4 separate regions of the Homo sapiens genome follow, and all the other regions are linked to region 3. The links are contacts of gene promoters, found by promoter capture Hi-C in human tissues and cell types (Jung and others, 2019). All regions are on one chromosome and are shown on one strand. The core of a region is centred on a gene start or on the middle of the fragment in contact, and the rest is flanking DNA. Distances in the headings are between cores, read along the strand shown. Region 1 overlaps RNF43 (ring finger protein 43). Region 2 holds the start of SUPT4H1 (SPT4 homolog, DSIF elongation factor subunit). Region 3 holds the start of TEX14 (testis expressed 14, intercellular bridge forming factor). Region 4 overlaps TSPOAP1 (TSPO associated protein 1).

Evidence for each region. Contacts are between HindIII fragments. The study calls those that stand out against the background at their distance.
Region 1: a fragment that was not itself captured here is called in contact with the fragment with the promoter of TEX14 in region 3 in 1 of the 25 tissues and cell types used here (aorta).
Region 2: the fragment with the promoter of SUPT4H1 here is called in contact with the fragment with the promoter of TEX14 in region 3 in 1 of the 25 tissues and cell types used here (adrenal gland).
Region 4: a contact is called between a fragment that was not itself captured here and the fragment with the promoter of TEX14 in region 3, in 1 of the 25 tissues and cell types used here (aorta).

The regions. Positions count from the first base shown.
Region 1 is chr17:58,408,072-58,411,123 of GRCh38, forward strand. The region is part of intron 2 of RNF43 (ring finger protein 43); the gene reads right to left. Among named protein-coding and RNA genes, the nearest start is that of RNF43, 7.9 kb to the right of the region's middle. The HindIII fragment of the contact is 8,585 bases long and covers 1-3,052 here.
Region 2 is chr17:58,350,731-58,353,888 of GRCh38, forward strand. SUPT4H1 (SPT4 homolog, DSIF elongation factor subunit) reads right to left here and starts at 1,471. Exons shown (of 5, transcript NM_003168.3): 1 at 1,337-1,471; 2 at 672-778. The coding sequence starts at 1,405. TSPOAP1-AS1 (TSPOAP1, SUPT4H1 and RNF43 antisense RNA 1) reads left to right here. Exons shown (of 5, transcript NR_038410.1): 4 at 1,014-1,184; 5 at 1,269-2,997. It overlaps RNF43 (ring finger protein 43), which reads right to left. Exons shown (of 10, transcript NM_017763.6): 10 at 2,946-3,158. RefSeq lists silencers at 1,045-1,154, 1,435-1,864 and an enhancer at 2,252-2,787. The HindIII fragment of the contact is 5,411 bases long and covers 1-3,158 here.
Region 3 is chr17:58,690,026-58,693,319 of GRCh38, forward strand. It overlaps TEX14 (testis expressed 14, intercellular bridge forming factor), which reads right to left and starts at 2,020. Exons shown (of 32, transcript NM_031272.5): 1 at 1,914-2,020. It overlaps IGBP1C (IGBP1 family member C), which reads right to left and starts at 2,020. Exons shown (of 2, transcript NM_001395966.1): 1 at 1,914-2,020. It overlaps RAD51C (RAD51 paralog C), which reads left to right and starts at 2,577. Exons shown (of 9, transcript NM_058216.3): 1 at 2,577-2,763. The coding sequence starts at 2,619. RefSeq lists enhancers at 2,335-2,434, 2,765-2,934. The HindIII fragment of the contact is 12,262 bases long and covers 1-3,294 here.
Region 4 is chr17:58,320,456-58,323,778 of GRCh38, forward strand. It overlaps TSPOAP1 (TSPO associated protein 1), which reads right to left. Exons shown (of 32, transcript NM_004758.4): 6 at 3,013-3,090; 7 at 2,843-2,926; 8 at 2,495-2,584; 9 at 2,199-2,321; 10 at 1,853-1,957; 11 at 76-126. Among named protein-coding and RNA genes, the nearest start is that of TSPOAP1-AS1, 3.3 kb to the right of the region's middle. The HindIII fragment of the contact is 5,479 bases long and covers 1-3,323 here.

The sequences.
Region 1 (3,052 bases), core at 451-2,950, 280 kb before region 3:
CTGCATCACAATATTGTTGTCTGTCTGACTTTAAGTAATACATACAAGTACTTTTCAAATTAAGTAAACTGAAGGTAAATTTGTTTTGAGAATTTGGTTTAATTTCTTGAAATAATTGGGATTATGTTAGGATAGTTGCTTTTCATCTGGAGTCCTTAGATCTCTAGATATGTCTTAGAGAGTCAACTCACTGAGATTTTATGCAAAATTGTGTATGTTAAGTATTTGTGTGTATTTTGTGCCTATGGTCAATAACAATGATCACATTCTCAAAGGGGCCTGTGGCACACACAAACAAGATTAAAAACTGTGCTTTAGGGTATCTAAAAACCAGAACGGGTAATCACAAATTTAAGTACTAAGAAGGTAAGGTCCTTTGGATGCACGCTAATATCCTAAAATCAAAGGTTTAAAATCAGGACCTGAATAAATCATTCTTGGAAAACCAAAATATCCTAAACAGCAAGGTTTAAGCTATCAAACTAAAGAAAAAATTTAAAAATCCTGTGTAAAGGAGCACCTTAAACATACTGATTACAGCCATATTTATGATTTTGAAATAACAACACACGAGGCTGTTGGTAAGTCAGAAGAGTAAAGGAACATAGCCTGCTATATCAAGCCACACACACTCAAAATAATCCACCTTATAACATACTTTAAAAATGTGATAAGCATGTTTTATTCTAGAGTGATCTCCCAGCCATCAGAGTTACTCAATACCACAATATTCATTATATTCATTAATAAATATTTACTGAGTACCCACCATGCCCAAGGAGTAAGTATACTTAGGTGCCATTCTCAGGGATACAGCTTTGAACAAAGGAGACAAAAATCCTTGCTTTCACAGAACTCATATTCCACTGTGGGGAGATAGACAACTACAAAACTGAAACATTACAGCATGCCACGTCAATAATTCTGTAAAGAAAAATGAAGCAGGAAAGGAGAATATGAGTCCTCAGGGAAATAGGAAAAGACCTTTAGGATTTCCACTCAGTAGAACTGACCCCTGAGGAATCCACATCTTCAGATTCCTTAAAAATTGATTACTCTCCTATCTCCTGCAAACCAGACTGGCTCAGTCTCTGTGCAACTTTGTTCTTAGATGATTTACTTTCTTTCTCTTTCCCAATATATTTCCTTTTCTGTAAAATGGAGTTAATATCACCTGTTCTTACGTGGCTCCAGGTATTGCAAATCATTTTAAGCTTCTTGGAAGAAAATTTCTACATAAAGTTAATGGAATATCATTCTCACAGCCTTCTCTAACAATATCCTGCTACCAATTCTGGTTCCTAACAGGATATTACTCATCTATAACATTTTAAAAAATCTACTGTAATTAGCAATTTGAAAGGGATAAAAGGGAAAAAAACATTTAAAAAATCCAATAAACTCTTTCCAATGAACAAAATGTAAAGACTTTTTAATAAAACAAAAACAAAAAGCAAAACCATGATCTCCAGGAATACCTTGTTTCTTAGACGGTCTCACTATGTTGCCCAGACTGGTCTCCAACTCCTGGGCTCAAGTGATCCTCCCACCTTAGCCTCTCACGGTGCTGGGATTACAGGCATGAGCCACCACACCTGGCCCGGGAATACCTTTAATACTGCAGACAGCAGGGCAAAACCCTGTCTCTACAAAAAATTGAAATATTAGCTGGGCATGGTGCCCCGTGCTTGTGGTCCCAGCTACTTGGGGGAGCTGAAGTGGGCAGATCGCTTGAGACTAGGAGGTTGAGGCTGCAGTGAGCCGTGTCTGTGCCACTGCCCTCCATCCTGGAAGACAGAACAAGACCCTATCTCAAAATACAAAGAAACAAAAAAAGTAAAGTAAATTATGGCTAGTTTTGGGCTAATTACAACACACACACATATATACATACACACTTTACTATAATACAAAACCCAAGGAAGTACCTACCCCCCCAGCCCCGCCCCCCACCAACCGAGAGTCTGCCAAATGAACACTAAATAGCCTGATGGGAGCAATAGCCAGGGACATATTTCATTCATTACCTCCTATTAACCAGATATGTACGAAGCTGAACTTACAAATTTTTGTTGGATACAAATTTTTGTTGAAGTACAGAACTGTGATATATATAAATCTGTTTGATGATAACTTATAAAAGAGATATCTTCTTAACTTGAAAAATTATCATTAAAAATATTCTGCAGCTTCCTTCTATTCTGTGGGTGCCAGGCTTCTAACAACAAGGCCAAGTCTAGAATAGAAGACTCTAAAAGCCATGTCAGGAAGGCTCTGAGCTGGGATCACAGGAGACAAGCACCTAAGAATGTTTGTGCGCACAGAGGAACTGTGTCTGATGGTGTACTCCTGACTACATTCCAAAGTCAGTAATTAATTAATTGGATTTTCTGCACCTTCATTTACATAAGTAACAGAGTTGATCATACTTTGAATATCTACTCTGTACTTCTTCTAAAGGCTGGCATCAAAACAAAATCACAAAATTTCTATTTCAAAATTTCTTCATAGAAGGAACTCTAACTTGAGCAATGCCAGTTAAATGCATGCTATGTCAGTGTTTATTATTTCAGGTTCCTATATTAGATAACTTAACCTAGACTTTTAAAATGAAGAGAAAGGTGATGAAATATGTTACATTATAAGGGAGATACTGAGTAAACAGACATTGTGATTTACTAGTATCTTTGCAAATGAAACACAAAATGAGAGAAATAGAAGAAATACAGAGATTATTAGAAGGTAGCAGGATATGATGCACTCTGGATCAATCTCAGATAATGGTACTCATCACTTTCATTCCTTTCTACTCTGGAAATAAATTTTTTATACAAAGCCTATACTGATATTCTCTTCATCTGTGGCATTCTTACATATACAGAATTTTAGAGCTGGAAAAGCATGGGCTCTGCAGTTCAAGTTCCAGCAACACCACTTACTAGATAATAATAGTTAATACTTTGACAGATATTAACATTTTAATCCTCAGTTTCCTTATCTGTAAAATGTAAAAAATAAAGGTACTGAATTTCTTCTCTCATAAAGTTATTAT
Region 2 (3,158 bases), core at 221-2,720, 340 kb before region 3:
GAGGCTGAGGCAGGAGAATTGCTTGAACCCAGGAGGCAGAGGTTGCAGTGAGCCGAGACTGCACCATTGCACTCCAGCATGAGTGGCAAGGGCGAAAAGTCTGTCCAAAAAAAAAAAAAAAAAAAAAGCAACAGCTTTTGGGCAATGATCTACCATTACTACACCTCCCTTCCCTTCATTTTCAAAAAAAATTTTCATGCATTTAACAAACATTATTAAGATTACATTCTTTCTTCTCATGTTAAGTCTTTGAAATCTGGGGTATATTTTATACTTAAAAGCATGTCTTAATTTGGACTAGACACATTTCAAGTGCTCAGTAGCTACACGTGGATAGTGGTCACTGTATTAGATGCATAGCACTAGTATGTCCCAAAATAACTGTTGAGGCTGGACACAGTGGCTTACACCTATAATCCCAGCACTCTGGGAGGTTGAAGTCAGAGGATCATTCCACGCTGCAGTGAGCTATGATCATGCCACTGCACTCCAGCCTGAGCCACAGAGCAAAACCCTGATTCAAAAAAAAAAAAAAAAAAAAAAACCCACACAAAATAACCCCCAAAAACGAATGGCTGGGCCCAACTAGGATTAACACTTGCCCTGCATTTACTTCTCTGGGTGCAGGTTGGGTAATGCAGAAGTGAATGATGGAAACTGAAGCGGCTTACCCATCAAAGGAAGAGCTAGTGCAGTCATATACCATCTCTCGGTTACCCTTCATTTGTAGATATGCATCACAATTGTCACAACCATCATATTCAAACTGGTCTATAGTCTGGGAGTGAAAGAAAAATAAAGGAAAAGGAGAGATAAGCATGAACAAGACCAAGAGAAAAAGTAGCTTTCTCAATACTTCGACCTGCTCAATTTCTTGTTTCCCTATGTTGACTGTGTATCCTAAGGTTCCCCACCTACTACTCTCAAAGCTTCATTCCTAAGTCCCACCCTCCCACTCCTTCCTCTCTCGTTCCCAATTCCGTTTTATCTATTCCTTTCTCTAGTCTACTCAGGGTCAGGCATCCTTTCCGACTACTCACTCAGCAGCGGATCCCCACCCGCCTCTGACTCCCAGTGTCTTTCGGCTCCAACGTAAGTTCACCGAACGTCTAAGAGCTGAGGATTCAAAGGCATGTAAGACCGCCCCTGCCCTCAGCTGCAAGACCTGTCCGCGATCCTACGAGGTAAACGATGGCCTCCTTCGGCTTCTCACTCCCCCTGCCACCTCTGAGTTCTGAGACTTAACTTTTCTCTTTACTGTCCCACAGCCCCATTCCGCCCTCTTTCCCCGACCTTGGTCCCCCATGGGCCCTACAACCAGGTCCCCGACTGACACCTTGACCAGCGAACACAGCAAACAGGCCCGCAGATGCCGCAGGTCCTTCGGCACCGTCTCCAGGGCCATCTTCGCCGATGGGAAGAACAACAGGGAGATAGACGACCACAGCCTGTGCACCCGCAGGAAGTAAATAGCTCGTTACCCAGAATGCCCACCACTTCCGGCGCTTAGACTTCCTCTTCCGGTGTGGGCGGACGCCAGCTCCGCCCCTACCCCCGCCAGAGGAGATGGTTTCTCCCGCCAGCAGGCGGGGAGGCTGGGCGGCCGGCCGCCACCTGGGCCGGAGCGCGTCGCAGCCACCTGAGCCCGCCGAGGGCGCGGCGGAGGCTGTGTGGGGTAGTCAGCGGGCCCCCGGGGCGGGGGGGCGGCTGCGCTTGCGCGGGAGTGTGTCGGGCTGAGCCGCAGCGCCGAGACGCGGGCTGTTTGATCTGGGCTGGTGGCCCTGGGCGTCGGTCCTGTTCCCCGATGGTAACCCGAAGTTTGTTTTTTTTTGTTTTGTCTCCCCGTTTTAGAAGCATTGGGGGCAGTGAATCCACTGTCTCCCTCTGGATTGTCTCTGCAGAGACCGAGAAGAAATCCAGGGACAGCCCCACCCCTCCTTCCTAACTGCGAGAGCGCTATAGGGTTTCCACTTGCTTCCCACAGGAATGCTGGCCTGGGAGCTACGGCGGAAAAAAATGCGTATTTATCTTTTAAAACTCCGTCTGTTTGCTCGTTCCGGCTGATAATTTATACTTTGCGCAGTTCTTAGCGCTTAGACACGGTTCCTTTACTAAAGACCATTTGTAGGAGATTAGGTGTCCTTTTTTTCCCTTTCATTTCACCGTCTAGGAAGCGAAATGCCTTGTTCTATAGGCACTAAACCACCACCCCTACCAAACCTTTCTCGGGGAAGCAGAAGGGGAACTTGTGCCTTGTGAGGAAGCGACAAAGGCCCCTTCTGGCCCTGGAGACTTCACGCCAATGGAGCACCAGCTCTCTGTCCTCGCAATAGCCCGAGTGCAGGCAGAACGCAGTCATTTGTGTTTATCTGAGAGGAGCTTTGGGATATAAATAGTTTCAGGCCCCGCTGCGCTGTCATTCCAGCCCAGCCTCCTGATTGAGCTGCTTCCGGGCGGGCTTTCTTCTTGTTGGCGGTCCCATGCTGTGTTCAGATGGGCTCTGTGACAGGTTTGGATGTTTTCTATCACTGAATAAAACTTTCCACTTTGGAACATATTTTCTACACTCTATTATCTCATGTAAGTCCTGCAACAACTATTAAGTAGGCCCATTTTATGGACTGAAAAAGCGAGGCACAGAGTATTTGCCCAAGGTCTGAGTCACTGAAGTATGATAATGTGTGAAGTGAACAGTATAATAATAATGACTGAAGCACAGTAAGAATCCAGTCATGCTTTCTCCTTCCCTGATCTCACTAAGCCACACTTTTAGGGGCTTACAAACCAGTTCTTATTGCCAAGCCCTCTACTCTACCCTATCCTTTCATGAATCGGAGCCTAGCCTCTGATAACATAAATAATTTACTTCTCTTGATGTAGAAAGAGATGACGTTGTTACCCTGAGTGACAGTCACGACAGAACAAAACCACAAGACCAGACCACATTTGTGGATAAATATATTAGCAAATAAATATATTTCTTAACATAGTGCCTGATTCAAGCGTCTGTCTGGTTCAGATATAAATACCCATGTGGGTACCTAGGTGCTAGTCTCCCCACTAACTGAGGGAAAAAGGTTCCCAGGTGGGGTCCTCTGCCCACTTTGCCACCACATTCACATTCCAAATGGGATAATGCCTGAGGGGCCAAGAGTGGT
Region 3 (3,294 bases), core at 770-3,269:
TTTTTAGTAGAGACGGGGTTTCATCATGTTAGCCAGGATGGTCTCGATCTCCTGACCTTGTGATCTGCAGAAGATATTAATAGCACTTAAATTATACAGCTATAGATAGAGTTGAGTGGGGGTTTTTTTGTTTTTTTTATTTTGCTTTGTTTTGTTTTTGAGATGGAGTCTCGCTCTGTCGCCCAGATTGGAGTGGAGTTACGCAATCTCAGCTCACTGCAACCTCAACCTCCCGGGCTCAATTGGTTCTCCCACCTCAGCCTCCCAAGTAGCTGGGACTAGAGGCATGTACCACCATGCTGGCTAATTTTTGTATTTTTTGTAGAGATGGGGTTTTGCCCTGTTGCCCAGGCTGGTCTCAAACTCCTGAGATCAAGCGATGTGCCCTCTTTGGCCTCCCAAAGTGCTTGGATTCCAGGCTTAAGCCACTGTGCCAGGCCAAAGTAGTTTTGAACTTTCCACTGTCAACGAAAGAAATTCTAAACACGACTGATTCCACTGAGTTTGACCAAACTAACTGAAGACTTATTGTTGAATGTGGTAATACCATGTTTTTTCTTCACCCAAGAATCTGGGTGCTTTATAAGCATAAGCATGAAATCTCCCTGAAGATAGTATTTATGCATCCACTGAGCGCTCAAATATAGACCATATTAGAAGTTAAGCAATGGGTTGAGTGGCCAACCACATTTTGGCCAGTCCTACAAGACTTTCTTTGACCTACCAAATGGGGTATAAATGCTTCTCGTATTCTCCCCGCCAGTAGGGACTCAAAATCTTAATAGCTCGGGGTAGTAAAAAGGATGCTAGGTTTGAATCTTGGCTTTAAGAAAACTGTGCTGAGGTGTTTTGTTTGTTTGAGACAGGGTTTCACTCTATCACCCAAGCTGGAGTGCAGTGGCGTGATCATAGCTCACTCCCAGGCTGAAGGGATCCTCCCACCACAGACTTCTGAGTAGCTGGGACGACCGGTGCATGCCACCATGCCCGGCTAATTTTTTGTACTTTTGGTACAGACAGTGTTTCGCCATGTTGTCGAGGCTGGTCTCAAACTCATGAGCTCAAAGAGATCCACCTGCCTCGACCTCCCAAAGTGCTGGGATTACAGGCACGAGCCACTGCGCCCGGCCAGCTTTTTTTCTTTTATCAGAATTGATATTAAACTATATGCTGAGCTTCCATGTCCTTATCTTCCTTTTGGCATGGCTATGGCCATTTGAAATGTGTGGGATTTGCTAAAGTGCTCAACATACGTTGTTTCCTTTTTTAGATCTAAGTATGTAGAGGGCTCTGATTTGCAATATTTAGAAAGTTCTTCTAAGCTGGGAAGAAAAGTCAAGACTAAGAATCATTGCCAACAGGGCCGGGCGCGGTGGCTCACGCCTGTACTCCCAGCATTTTGGGAGGCCGAGGCAGGCGGATCACGAGGTCAGGAGTTCGAGACCAGCCTGGCCAATATGGTGAAACCCCTTCTCTAATAATAATACAAAAATTAGCCGGGCATGGTGGCGTGCGCCTGTAATCCCAGGTACTCAAGAGGCTGAGGCAGGAGACTCACTTGAACCCGGGAGGCGAAGGTTGCAGTGAGCCGACATCGTGCCACTGCACTCCATCATGGGCAACACAGTGAGACTCTGTCTCAAAAAAAAAAAAAAAAAAATCGCCAATAGGTAGGGAATAAGTTACCCCCTGCTAAATAAGTTACACTCACCTAGGCAAGGAAGGAACTCATAAACCACCTTCTAAACTGCTTGCCTTCCTCCCCGAAGTTCTGTAATTTAGAGGCGGTCACTACCACTGCTTGAACACCCCTTCCCAAGTCTGTACCACAAAAGGAGCTCTTGTGTAGCCCAGCCCCTCCTTCTCAGGACCCCAGGAGCCCAGACACACTAATGGGGACATTAGTTGCTTACTTTTCCAGCTACTGCTTAAGCTAGGCAGGCCATGAAGAAATAACGGTCTCAGTAACCTCCATGCTCGGGATACGACTCCCGGGAAGACGTGGGTGGGTGCGGGGAATGCGGACTGATCCCTCCCAGCGGCCGTTGGGGGCTGGCCCACAATCCCTCGCGAGGGCGGGAAAAGCAATGTGGTCGTTGCGGGGGGGGGGGGTCAGAAAAGGGGGACGGTCAGCGGGAAGAGCCAAGAGACTGCAACTCTACAAAGAGCACGCAGATTAATTCTAATGATTGTTCCCTGAGCTTTTCACACCAAAATAATGGTAACTGGCTAGTGTGTGCCCGTTACGCTCACTACTCCCACTCGAGATCATTCCTATTAATGACTCTGAGGCTTCACCTAACAGGCCACGGTGGAGGCAAGGAAATGTGGCGTGGAGAACCCACTGGGCCTGGCTCTCCGTCCTATGGTCTCCGTCCATCGTTTTACAGTCAGGGTGTACATTTGATGAGGAATCTCTAAATGGGATTTTGGGGAATCAAAACGGAATGGTGCATAAGTGTGAAAATTTACAAGACTGCGCAAAGCTGCAAGGCCCGGAGCCCCGTGCGGCCAGGCCGCAGAGCCGGCCCCTTCCGCTTTACGTCTGACGTCACGCCGCACGCCCCAGCGAGGGCGTGCGGAGTTTGGCTGCTCCGGGGTTAGCAGGTGAGCCTGCGATGCGCGGGAAGACGTTCCGCTTTGAAATGCAGCGGGATTTGGTGAGTTTCCCGCTGTCTCCAGCGGTGCGGGTGAAGCTGGTGTCTGCGGGGTTCCAGACTGCTGAGGAACTCCTAGAGGTGAAACCCTCCGAGCTTAGCAAAGGTAACGACTCCTGATGGCAAGCTGAGGCACACCGGCCGCCGTCAGCGCCGCCTCAGTCTTCGTTCTCTCGCCTCGGCCTTCAGCCCAGTCTCCGTTAGATTCTGCTTCCTCCCACGTCCATGTTTACAGCGTGAAAGAGCTCCTCGACTCCACTTACAAGTTGTCTGAATGGTTAGGAGAACTGTGGTCGTGAAAACATTTACTAATTGCTTTTCCTCTGGCAATGCCTGCTGAATGCTTTGAGGATTGTCTCATTTAACCCTCAACCCGCTTACGTAGATTATTATATTCAGTATATGGATGAGAGAACTGATATCTTGGGGAGCTTAGGTAACTTTTCATGCTAACTGGGTTAGGAAATACTGGAGTCAGAATTGGTTGTCTAATTTTTGCTGTTCCAAGATCCAAGGGGTAAGGGTTAAATTTCAGAAATGCAGGATTTTGTGTAGGACTAGAGACACTAAGAATGAGAAAGAGAGTAGAATCCCCGGAATCTTGAGGAAGCATAGAAAGAATATTCTCTTACGTAAT
Region 4 (3,323 bases), core at 576-3,075, 370 kb before region 3:
ATTTCAGCTCTATCTGGAGGACCCCCGCCTTCCTCCCAAGATGGTGGAACTGGGGGCCACTTCCAGGCGCCCTACCTCCAGCAGCTGCACGGCTCCTTCATGTTCCCTCTGGGCTTCAGCCTGGGCCTACAGGTGGGGGGAACCAAAATACTGGAGGGAAGGAGAAGGAATGGGGTGGAGTAGAGAGGGCTGCGAGGGAGGAAGGGTAGAAAGGACAGAGGCAGGGGAGGAAGAAGCCGGGAGAAAGAAAAGGGTAGGGAGAGAGGGAAGAGGGATAGGGAAGGGGGAGGCCGAAGGGTTTCTCCCTCCTGAACACCCACCCTGAACCATACCTTAGACCAGAAGGCAAAGGGGACCAGGAGAAGCGTGGCTGAGTCAGCTCCCCTCTTTCCTGAGCAACCATCCTCCCAGTTTCCCCCCTACCTCTCTGGATGCTCCTTCTCAGCCTCTTTTGCCTGCTCCCTGTCCCCCATTTTGAATGTTAGGGTTACCCTGGACCCAGTGCTGGGCCCAGTTTATATTGTCTACTCTCTTCCTAGGGCTCCCATCTACTCATACAACTAAACACACTGGTGGCTCCAAATATCTCCAAGACCAACTTACCCATAACCCCAGGCTCATGTATCCAAGTGCCTGTGGACAGCTCCCCTTGAATGTTTAACGCGCAGCTCAGACATGGCCCAAATGGAACTCAGCACTCGGGATGACCTACCTCTCAGATCTGCTGCCCCTTCATCCTTCACCTCACGGAGTATGAAGAGCCCCACCCTCCACCAAGGTTTATACAGCAAATGGCTGTCAGAGAAGGGATTCAACTGGAATCCCACGGGGATCCTTGTCAATTCTTTTTTTTTTTTTTTGAGATGGAGTCTCGCTCTGTCGCCCAGGCTGGAGTGCAATGGTACGATCTCAGCTCACTGCAAGCTCTGCCTCCCGGGTTCAAACAATTCTCCTGCCTCAGCCTCCTGAGTAGCTGGGACTACAGGGGCCCGCCACCATGTCAGGTTAATTTTTGTATTTTTGGTAGAGACGGGGATTCACCATATTGGCCAGGCTGGCCTCGAACTCCTGACCTCAACTGATCCACCCACCTTGGCCTCCCAAAGTGCTGGGATGACAGGCATGAGCCACCATGCCCGGCCAGAACCTTGTCAGTTCTATCTCTAAAACATAACTCAAACCCAGGCACTTGTCTCCCGTTCCACTGCATGCATCTCTGTCCAGACAGCCACCATCTCCCTCCCAGGCCACCGCCCAGGCCCTGCTCCACGCCTGCTCCCACAGTCCACCCTCCATAATACCAGCCATGTGATCCTGTAAAATTATGACTCAGATCATGTCACTCCCCCACTTAGGATCTTTCAGGAGCTTCTATCTACTCACAGAGCAAAATACCCAAACTCTTCCCATGGCCGTTAAGGCCCGACAGGATCGGGTTCTTGTCTACTCCCACCACGCTGCCCATCCCTTGCTGTATTCTAGCCACATTGGTCTCAGGCTTCTTCAGCTCTTCCCTGCCACAGAGCATGTGCATGTCTACACCTCCTGGCTGGCAAGGTCAATTGTCACCTCCTCAGGGAGGCCTTCCCTGATGACCTCTAAAGTGGCTCCTCACCCCATCCCAGTCACTTTGTCACATCACCCTGTTCTTCTCCACCACTGTGCTCATCAGTGTCTGAAATCAGCTCACTCCTGGATGCTAATTTGCTGACTGCTCAGGGACCTGGTCTTTGTTCCCCACAGTCTCCCCGACGCCTAGCACAGTGCCGGGCACACAGTAAATGCTTGTGGAATGAGTGAGTGGCAAAGCTGGTGTCCAGCAGCCTGCCAGCTTCCCTCACTGCCGCCCCACCTGCTGCAGTCTCCGGACCTCCTCCTGCTTCTCCCGTAGGCTGAGCCGAGCCTGTTCATGCTCCACCTCCAGCTGCTGCCGCCGCTGGGCCACCTCCCGCATGTGCTGAAACACAAGATCTGAGTCAAGGCCAGAGCCCCTACTTGGCCATTTCTAGAGAAGATCTAAGATGAGGAAGCCTCAAACACCATTTGCTCCAGATTCCTCTATTACAAAGGAAACTGAGCCTGGAGCAGCTCCAGGCCCAGGCCTCAGAGCTAGTGCCCCTCACTAAGAATATTCTGCTGTCCCACTTGCTCCCCATGCCAGGGCCCAGCACCCTCTCCCACCTGCACCATCTCCTCACCTTCAGCACTTGCTCCAGGCTCTCCAGCTTGCTCTGCAGGCCCTGGCTCTTGCGAAGGGCTGAGTCCCTCTCCTGTGTCACCCCCAGGAGCTGGCCCCTCAGCTCCGCATTCTCCCACTCCACCTGGCGAGGGGGCAGTGACAGGGAGTTGGGTGGGTGAGCCTTGACCCACCAGCACCCTCACAGGGGGAACAGTACCCTACCCCTGCTCAGGGGTGGAGGAGAAAGCCCCTTGGCTGGGGACCGGGGCAGTGGTGGGAGCACAGGTCTCCACAGCACCTGGGCGGAAGTGGTACCTGCTCCTTCTCTGTGGCTCTCCCACTGAGCCGGGAGTTCTCCTCCACCAGGCGGGCATTCTCATTCTGCGCTTGTCTCAGCTGCAGTTCCTGAGCGGGCAGAGGAGCTCTCAGGAGGGAGCCCAGCACCCACATTCCCCCTCTCCCCACACAGAGGACCCTGCCCTCCTCCCAGGCAAGGCCTTCCTCCCCTGCTGGAACCTGCACCAGCCAGGAAAGGAAAGGAGCAGGAGGGAAAATGTGTTCTTGAGGGCAGCAGGGGTGGGAGCAGAGCTGAGAGGGAGCCCACCACCTGGCTGGCCGGGGTGAAGGGAGGAGCTGGCCTCTGGGTTGCCCTCAAGAGCTCACCAGCTCCTCACATCGCCTCTGCTTTTTCCGGGCTTCCTGCTCCAGGCTCTCGCATTTCTTCCGCTTCTTGCTGAGCTCCGATTCCTGAGGGGTCAGAACCAAGTGCTCCTCATGAGGGAAGGTACATCTGCCCACAGCAGGCTGCCTCCAGCCCTTGACCTAGGACTTACCAGCTGCTGCACCCTCTGCTCTTTCTCTGGCTCCCCTAGAATCACGGGTAGGTTGTCCGCATCCTCCTGGGGCGTGGCCTGGAAATGCCCAGGGGCAAGGGGCTGGCACCTGAGAACAGGGCCCCAGGGCAGCCTGCCCCAGCCCAGCCTGCCCAGAGCAGGTTCCCACCCCATCATTCAGCCAGCAAGAGATCCCTGCCTAGCAAGAGCAAAGAGGGGTACTGTCTGCCCACCCACCTCCCATTGTCTCCAGCTGATGTGTAAGTACAAAGGCTGCACCCCTGTGTCCTGGAGCCATAAGTGCTTTGAGA